Regions from separate parts of the Homo sapiens genome. Here region 1 is linked to region 2. The links are contacts of gene promoters, found by promoter capture Hi-C in human tissues and cell types (Jung and others, 2019). All regions are on one chromosome and are shown on one strand. The core of a region is centred on a gene start or on the middle of the fragment in contact, and the rest is flanking DNA. Distances in the headings are between cores, read along the strand shown.

What was found. Contacts are between HindIII fragments. The study calls those that stand out against the background at their distance.
Region 1: a fragment that was not itself captured here is called in contact with the fragment with the promoter of RFPL3S in region 2 in 1 of the 25 tissues and cell types used here (thymus).

Annotation. Positions count from the first base shown.
Region 1 is chr22:33,659,206-33,664,129 of GRCh38, reverse strand. All of the region lies in intron 2 of LARGE1 (LARGE xylosyl- and glucuronyltransferase 1), which reads left to right. Among named protein-coding and RNA genes, the nearest start is that of SNORA50B, 43 kb to the left of the region's middle. The HindIII fragment of the contact is 6,747 bases long and covers 5-4,924 here.
Region 2 is chr22:32,369,941-32,374,871 of GRCh38, reverse strand. It overlaps RFPL3S (RFPL3 antisense), which reads left to right and starts at 3,608. Exons shown (of 5, transcript NR_104232.1): 1 at 3,608-3,674; 2 at 3,931-3,973. The HindIII fragment of the contact is 22,540 bases long and covers 1-4,931 here.

The DNA.
Region 1 (4,924 bases), core at 2,129-4,628, 1.3 Mb before region 2:
AGCCTGGCTCCTGCCCTGAACAGGTGTTCAGTTGACGTGTTGAGACAATGGAGGTGGCATAAAGAGCTGTTACACATGGGGTGAGAGCCACTACCTTATCTACGTTGTGGAAGGTAGTAGGAAATCCAAGGATGGTGAAAGAAGAGAAGGAGCCAACTCACCCTGGGCAGATTGGAGAAGGGTTCCTAGAAGAAATTATTGAGCCAGGTGTTGGAGGGTCCATGGTAATTCACCAAATGACAAAACATGCAAAGGAAATAATACAACATTTTTAATGCTTATTCCAACTGCCAGCCCTGCATTCAGGAACTTGGCACAGGGCTTGTATATGTAGGGGCTCCTGAAATCCTTGTTGGTGAAGATCGTTGGTCCACTGAGGACTCTTCAGAGCCAAAAGATGGAAGTATAAAGTGCAGTAGATTTCACCAGCAATTTCAGAAAGTTTAGCAAGGCTTGAACCAGGATATCCTCTTGGCCAATCAGCCGCGTCATCCCCATCCTGACACTGTCTCTGAGATCAGTCCCTCAGGTGGGCCTCTGTCCTGCAAGGGGCTTTTCTTTTTGGGGTCAGAAATTGGGATCCTGTACTGGAGGCTTCACCATCATAGGCTTCCCCTTGGTCCTCTGCACCTGTTACTTCCTGCACTCAAGCGCATCATTCCTCTCAGCTTGCAGAGGAAAATCCTGACTTTGCCTTATAGTGGTATTGAGTTGAGGGTTCTTAGTTTTATTCTTCTTACTTTTATAAGACTGCTGGAAGCACCTTATAAAAACTCTCCGGTGTAGGACTTGGAAGAAAATACCCGTCCGTCAAAAGTAGAGATGGCGGGTTTTGACCTTAATAAGTATTAACACAAGATTTTACCCAAACATCTATCTTGCTCTTGGTAACATGTTATCTTTGCCAAGTGCCCATCCCAATAAAGCGTTATTTCTGTCAAGCTGAACTCCTGATGAAATCTTCTATTCCCCTCTCTCCCTGATCGGTTTCGATAAAACCTCATTCCTCATTCTGATTTTCTCCTAAGGGATGGTTTGGATTTGTCAGGAAAGGGTGAAAAAAGAGGTGATTTTTTTTTTCATTTTCCTCCTCTTATTTCTTTTTCTAATATAGATACTTGTTGGAATTGGAATATAACTTTAATGTAAGTCAAACTGATAAAGGGTGGTTGGACACTACTGTGAAGAAGGAAAAGAAGATAGGAAAAAGGAGGACAGTCACTTACAGGCAAAGGAATGTCCAGCCAGGCTTTTGCTTGTTTTCTCTTGTTTTTAATTTACAATGGAGCTGAGGAAGATAACACTGATTTAGGTGAAGTGGCATTTTACAGCAGGGGGATGCCATTGAAGGAATCAATGACATTCACAAAAGTACTTGCTTCCATTTTTTTTTTTGGAATGGGTTAGAATATTCTGGATGGCAGCTACTCATGCCGTTGGATGGCTATGTTGCCACTGCTAACTTTAACAAGTACAGAGTCCCCCTTATCTTTGATAACTAGCTCTTTCTATTCCTCTTTTTACCAGCCCCATCATTTCTGTCTCTCATCTGGTTCCACTATCGAAGAGTGAACACTGCAGGCCAGAGTTGGACACTTCTGGTGAAGTGTGGCTTGCATAGCAGGTGGTCTCCATAGAAGGCTAGGCAAGGGGTGGGGAGTTTGGATGAAGGGCGGTGATTTGTCTCAAAGCCAGTTGACTGTAGAGGAGATGGGGTATGTCAGAGGGCCCCGAGAATATGGTGCAAGTCAAGTCCATCCTCACTGATGCTGGGGCTCCTGAAAAGATGGGGCAGGGCCTTTCCTCCCATGTTGATCTTGCTTACATGCAGTATAAGGGAAGAGAACTTTTGCTCAGGTTTGGCAGGTGCACCATTTCAAGGGCAGTGGTCAGATAGGCAAACTGACCATTCTACCTGACGCATAGCCTAAAGAACACTCTCTGGACCAGGCTTATCCAACCTGTGGACAGCTTTGAATGTGGCCCAACACAAATTTGGCCACTTTGAAAACACTATGAGATTCTTTTCCTTTTTTTTTTTTTTTTTTTTTTTGGCTCCTAAGCTGTCCTTAGTGTTAGTGTTTTTTATGTGTGGCCCAAGACAATTCTTCTTCCAGTGTGGCCCAGGGAAGCCAAAAGATTGGACACCCCTGCTCTAGATTTTTAGTCATGTTTCACATTCAGTTTTCTTCTTACAGTCCCAAGACATTCATGGAACAACTGTCTTCCAAATACAGAGAAGGATATCAAAGTCTGAGTGGGTTATCTGGTAGTCCCCCTCCCTCCCGAGGACAGCAGAACACCATAGTTCAATTCTGATGCAGTCCAATTAAAGACACACTCATGATGTACGGTCATCATTCTGTTGGATCCTTTTTGATGAGAGTCCCTAACTCTTCTCTGTAGATCTGAATTTCACTTGGATATTTCTCCTCTCAAGTGAAGCAGGAGGGGCACAGAAGCCCAAGGAGCAGGAATGAATGGGGTCAGGGCTTTGCTGATTTGTCTGGCATCCTCAAATAGCTGCTGTTTGCCATTGAAATCTTTCATCCTCTGTAACCCAAACCAGACATTATTGTCAGTGCTCCTCATTTAAAAAAAAAAAATCACAGAAATGCCAGGTGCGGAAGCTCACATCTGTAATCCCAGCACTTTGGGAGGCTGAGGCAGATGGATCACTTGAGGTCAGGAGTTCGAGGAACAGGCTGGCCAACATGGTGAAACCCCGTCTCTACTAAAAATGCAAAAATTAGCCAAGCATGGTGGCGCGCCTGTAATCCCAGCTACTTGGGAGGCTGAGGCAAGGGAATCGCTTGAACCTGGGAGGTGGAGGTCGCAGTGAGCCAAGACTGAGCCCCTGTACTCCAGCCTGGGCAACAGAGCGAGACCCTGGCTCAAAAAAAAAAAAAAAATCATAGAACCTTTTTTGGTAATAAATATGGCCAACCAGAATGACAGTTTGAGGCTTACAGCAAGTATAGATTCACAAAGTGAGAAAAGGATAGTTTTCAACATACTCAGTATGATGAATGCAAAATAAAATTGAAAATCTTTGCTAAAAAATCATCCCATGTGGGTCTTCTGATTTGAACAAGATTTTAGCTACAAAAAAAAAAATCAAACCTCATTAAAAATTTTTACTGTAAAATATGATTCTTAGCACGTGTGATTCGCCTCACTCTTGGAACATTTTAGTGGGATTTTATAAGGGCTATGAATATTTCATATCAAATAACACATTTATTGCAAAGGTTTTAAAAAATTAAATCAGTGGAAAAAACACTTATGAAATCTTTCATCTTGAGTGCTGCTAAAGAGAAAATTAAGAAATTCTATAGTATTTCTGCATTTGATTTTATAGTAAATAGCCACATTGAGGACACTCAGTTGATGCTTTGCAAAGGATAAAATCGTTATGGTTGTTTAGCTTTTAGTTTTGATGAATCTACCAACAAAGGGGATTGTGTCCAACTATTGCATATGTATGAAATAGGACTCAAGAAACTGGGGAAGGAGAAAGGATGCTTTCTCAGACTCAACCATTGGAGACCGTCACTAACGCTGGTGATGCCTTCAAGGCTGTGTAAAAGTGATTGAAGTTTAGGGGCTAACTGGGGGCAGAGGCTCTTCAAAGATGACTGGAATGTGAATTTATTGTGCTCTCACACACAGATCAATTGTCAGGATTTGCGGTGAATATCTATTCACCTTTTCTAGTATACACTGTTATCATTACCCTCCAATGACGGTTTTCTAAACCACCTGGTGATCTAAGAGAAGACCTTCACTCTGCTGTCAAGTCCTTCCATTTTTCTAGGAAACAGAGCACTAAATACATTATCTTTTTTGGCCTTGGTTGGTGACGATTTGAATGCTACTAACAAAGCCCTTTTGTCCATACTCAGACTCCTTGAGTATATGACGGGCCAGTTATAGAAGCAGGAAGACATGGTTGCCCCACCATGGTAACAGCAGTTCAAAGACCAACTGCCTCCAACTTTCAAAACTTAGCATATTTGGCAAAAAAAAAAAAAAAAAACACACACACACACACACACAACAAAACATTTGAAGCTTTGAAATCATTGAACCTGAAGTTTCAAAAGACAAAAACTGGTATCATTGCTCGTTAGAACACACTTCAAGCATTTGTAGTCTAAACCCAGGTATAGGTACAGCAAATTGGTGCTAAAAATGTCTTCATTTTCTTGACTTAATGAAGCTCTTTAAGCTAACGTTCTTGGAAATGATTTTATGGAAGACAAAAGTCAGATCTCATTCAGCCTATTATGGTGCAGTGAATCCAGGCCTCTTTCCCTGGCACTGTAGTTGCAAATTCTTTTTAGAAGCTAGTGAGGAACTCTCCTTTTTTTTTTTTTTTTTTTAACTGTTCTTCCATCTTTGTCAGAAGATCTGTCTCCAGGGCCTTTGCTGGAACTCAAGTGTGCTTTGGTTGCCAAAGATAACTTCCAGAAAATCACTTAGGGGAATTTTGGGGCAAAACATTCCCTGTGTACCTCATAAAAAGCGAGCAGCCTTTGTGTGTCATCATTGCCATTTTCCTTCCCACAGCAAATCTGATTCCATGCTTTTGAAACTTAAGAAAATGGCTCAGCCTGGACCTGTGTCTTGCTGTGACTTATAAACTGCCTAGAAAAGAAAAGCTGATGACACGTTGGCAGACTCAGCTCTCCTGTGGACATCTCATGATCAAAATTAACTTTTAAGATCAAACTGAGTTTTCTAAATTTTTCTAAAATGACTTTGGCTGCAATATTTAATTTACTTTGAAATATCAAATGATATTAGATATTTGGCATTGAATGAGGGTGTGAAATCTTTATGTTAATTAAAAGGAGGGCATTTTCTAACAAAAATTACAAATTGCTAAATGAATATAGTCTCATATGGAGAATGAAAAATT
Region 2 (4,931 bases), core at 2,359-4,858:
ATACTTTAAGTTCTGGGATACATGTGCAGAACGTGCAGGTTTGTTACATAGGTATACACGTGCCATGGTGGTTTGCTGCACCCATCAACCCATCATCTACATTAGGTATTTCTCTTAATGTTATCCCTCCCCTAGCCCCCAACCCCCGTCAGGCCCCAGTGTGTGATGTTCCCCTCCCTGTGTCCATGTGTTCTCATTGTTCAACTCCCACTTATGAGTGAGAACATGTGGTGTTTGGTTTTCTGTTTCTGTGTTAGTTTTCTAAGAATGATGGTTTCCAGCTTCATCCATGTCCCTGCAAAGGACATGAACTCAATACCATTCAGGACGTAGGCATGGCCAAAGACTTCATGAGTAAAACACCAAAAGCAATGGCAACAAAAGCCAAAATTGACAAATGGGATCTAATTAAACTAAAGAGCTTCTGCACAGCAAAGGAAACGATAATCAGAGTGAACAGGCAACCTACAGAATGGGAGAAAATTTTTGCAAAAGATGGCTTTTAAGTAATTTACACAGCAGGTTGTCTATTAATATGTAACATGCTAACAGATCTATTTGAGCGATCCTATTTCCTTGAGATTAAAGGTAGATTTGGCATTTTCTTCAAAAAGATATTTTTACTCTGTTTCTATAGTGTGAAATTGTACTTCATTACGAAGTGATCTCTTATGTCTGTCGTTAAAATAAATCAAACCAGAAACTAAATCCAGCTCTAGGAAGACTACACTTTATTTTATTTATCTCTGATGCATCTTATAATTTTTTTTGCTATGAGTGTCTGTGTGGATACTCTTCATTAAGAAAAACAGATTCTTTTGGAATATATTACCTTTCTACACTAACATTTCTTCCTGGCTAACACGGTGAAAACCCGTCTCTACTAAAAATACAAAAAATTAGCCGGGCGTGGTGGCGGGCGCCTGTAGTCCCAGCTACTCGGGAGGCTGAGGCAGAAGAATGGCGTGAACCCGGGAGGCAGAGGTTGCAGTGAGCTGAGATCGCGTCACTGCGCTCCAGCCTGGGCGACAGAGCAAGACTCCGTTTAAAAAAAAAAAAAAAAAAAGCTAGATGACAACCACAATACTAAGTAATGCAACTCTAATACTAATGCATTTTACATAGTTACTAAATAATCCATTTTCTTGCTTTCAATATTCCTAATGCTAGATGAAAGTACTGTTTAGTTTACCAAACCTTTAATCAAAAATGTCTAATCAGTACATCTTTTTAGCCCTTTAATTCATGTTAGAGAGTTTTAAGATGGAAGAAACAAATTAGACTCAAATTAAAAAAAAGTCTGACCTACAGTAGCTATTAGATAGTTAACATTTGTGACATCATCATGATTTTGTTCTGATACATGTATTTCACTTAGCATTGTTGAAATCAACTGGAATAATAGCCAAATAAAAACATTCTTTTAGTTATAATTTCAAAAACGATTGAAATTTATCAACAGTCATAACAACATCATTGTACTCTTAAATTAGACAATTCTTAGCACATATAAAAACATATTTACCTCTTTCAACTAGGACAATGTTAGAATTTATCAAAATTCACCATCATCAACTTTTTTTTTTTTTTCCAAAATCTTGATTGTTAGGTACTATAAAACTGCACCCTAATCAAATGATGTGTTTTTGATCTGATGATTTTACAAAGTTGGGAGGAAATTCAACGAAAAAAATACTTGTACAATTAAATTTCAAATCCTAAACATTTACTTATTTAAGCCTGCCTCTCTAAACTTAAAATAGATATCAGCTCCTCCAATAGGATGAGTAGATTTTCTCACTATATTTTCCACTTCTTTTTAAATTTTCTCCTCCATTTGAGCATTCAGAAGCATGAATCTGTGGGGATTGTTAAAGTTTTTTTTTAGTTTGCTGCATTTCTGAGTATACAAACACATACACATATAACTATAGTATCGTGTGTGTGTGTGTATAATTTGTGTATATACATATATTTGTTCAATCTGGAAGCCATTGAAATTTTCTGTTTATAACAACACAGAATGACCTATTCTTTCAGCACCTACCCCATTACACCCTCTGTTTTATAATCACTGGACAAAATATAGCATCATCTATATTAATGCAGATTGTATACATCATTTGTGACCTATTTATTTGTTCTAGAAATTTGTACTTAGCAATGATAGACATTTGTACTGTAATATTTATATCATGAAGGGTACCTATTCTCTTTGAAACATAGCAACTCTCTCATCTTAACCCTAAAATTTTCATTTGTTCTATTTATTTTAGGGCAGGTCACTTTCAACAGCTTGTTTTCTTGGGCATATCATAAAAGTATTTGCAATTGGGTGTTATGTATCAGCCAGAATACACACGTAGTTATACATTTTGAAAGTTATCTAAAATTCTGCATTCAGAAACACTTTAATTATATGTATTAGGCTGGGCATGGTGGTTCACGCCTCTAATCCCAATACTTTGGGAGGTCGAGGTGGGTGGATTGCTTGAATCCAAGAGTTGAAGACCAGCCTGGGCACCATGGAAAAACCCCATCTCTACAAAATATTAGCTGAGCATGGCGGCAAGAACCTGTAGTCCCAGCTACATGGGAGGCTGAGTTGGGAGGATCACCTGAGCCTGGGAGGTCAAGGCTGCAGTGAGCCATGATCAAGCCACTGCACTCCAGCCTGAGTGACAGAGTGAGACCCTGTCTCAAATAAAAAATTATATGTATTCACCCAAAGTGTTCACCCCACCGAGAAGATGCACTGGTGAAAATATAGTGATTTTTTTTTCCTTTAAATACTCAGTGAATGGCCAGCCGTTTACATACACAATGGTAGACAAATTCCTCTGTGAATTCACAAAGTTTGGGAGATAAATAAGTGCATAGTAATATATAGAGATAAGTGGAAAAATAAGTTTCATAATTATATTGTGAGAGAAATATGATTTTTATAATATCAAGTAACACTTTTTTCTAATTCTGAACAGTTTATTGCTTCTAGAAACATTAGATCACTCAGGAATGGTAGAAATATGACTTTTTAGGGAAATATGACTTTTAAAATGTGACTTTAAAAAATGTCACTTTTTAAGAAACATGACTTTTATAACAATATCCATTTATGCTGTCTTTAATTCTGAACAGTTTGCTTATTGGTTCTAGAAATATTAGATGACTCAGGAATGGTAGAAATATTTGGCAATGGAATTTCGAATCGAGAATGGAACTTCTGGTTGTTACTAACATATCGGTTTTGCCCCTGCTCAGTTTGAAATTCTTGCCATTGAGTGTATTTTGGGGTACACAATTTCTCCTCCTAAAACTTATTTTAATAAGCACAGAATAGTAATTAATGAGCTTGGGTTTTGTTGTTTTTTTTTTAAGTAAAACGCCTAATCTTTTATTTTATTTTATTTTATTTTATTTTTTTACGGAGTCTCGCTCTGTCGCCCAGGCTGGAGTGCAGTGGCGCTATGTCGGCTCACTGCAAGCTCCGCCTCCCGGGTTCACGCCATTCTCCTGCGTCAGCCTCCCGAGTAGCTGGGGGCTCCCGCCACCACGCCCGGCTAATTTTTTGTGTTTTTAGTACAGACGGGGTTTCACCATGTTAGCCAGGATGGTCTCTATCTCCTGACCTCGTGATCCACCCACCTCGGCCTCCCAAAGTGCTGGGATTACAGGTGTGAGCCACCACTCCCTGCCGTAAAAGGCCTAATCTTTAATGACCCTCCTGTGCGTGTGAAAGCACTCTTGTTGGTGCAGCAGAAAGCGGACCTCACAATACACATTGTGACTTTACCCTGAGACGTTGATGATGCTCCTATCACCATGGTTATGTGATTGGGTATATCTTGCCCTCGGTCCTAACTGCCACTGTCTGTGCTGAGTTTTTCAAAGTTCATAGCAGGTTGAACATGCTTGCTGTCATTTTCACAGATTCTGGTCTTTCTTATGGGGAACCTGAGTTCCTGCATTAAAGGTATGTTCACATTGGCCTGTTGAATGCTGTCCTCTCAAATGTACTAGTTAATATTTAAAAATATATTTTATTAAAAAATTCTCCTCTGTATTTTTCATATGCAGTTATAAATGTGTTTCCCGGTTATGTTTTATTCCTCAATTTATATATTTGATTCTAGTATCAAGCAGGATGCCTTTGAGCTTTTCCTTTATTTAAAAGACATGTCTTATTTCCTGTTACATCTGGCACCCCTCAAACCACCCAATTAGGTATCCTTCTGGGAAAAATATGGCAAAGTATGTTTTAATGCAGTTTTTACCTAATTAAGAACCTATTAAAATCATTAATTTTAAAAATTAGGAGCAAAGCTAGAATGATGCAGATGTCTTTGAGGCTTTTAACACAACGAAGTGTGTCCATCTTTGTCTTTTGTTGTTGTTTTTTTGTTTGTTTGTTTGTTTTTGAGATGGAGTCTCACTCTGTCGCCCAGGCTGGAGTGCAACGGTGCGATCTCGGCTCACTACAACCTCCGCCTCCCGGGTTCAAATGATTCTCTCGCCTCAGCCTCCCGAATAGCTGGGATTTCAGGCACCCACCATCATGCCCGGCTAATTTTTGTATTTTTGTAGAGACAAGGTTTTACCATGTTGGCCAGGCTGGTCTTGAACTCCTGACCTCAGGTGATCCACCTGCCTCGGCCTCCCAAAGTGGTGGTGTTACAGGCGTGAGCCACCACACCAGGCCCTGGCCTGTTTTTAGTATGTCTTTCCTCTCTCCTTTTTCATGAAATGTGTATTCAGTTTAGTAAATTTGGAATATGTCATTTATATTCACATATTAACTTTTTGAAAAGAAGTAAGAATGTGTATTGTCTATGTGTCAGTGTGTGAAACAAAACACACTTATTTTTATGATTGGGGTTTATCCAAAATGATAGAGATAACAATTATAGTCAATCACCCAAACCACTTACCTT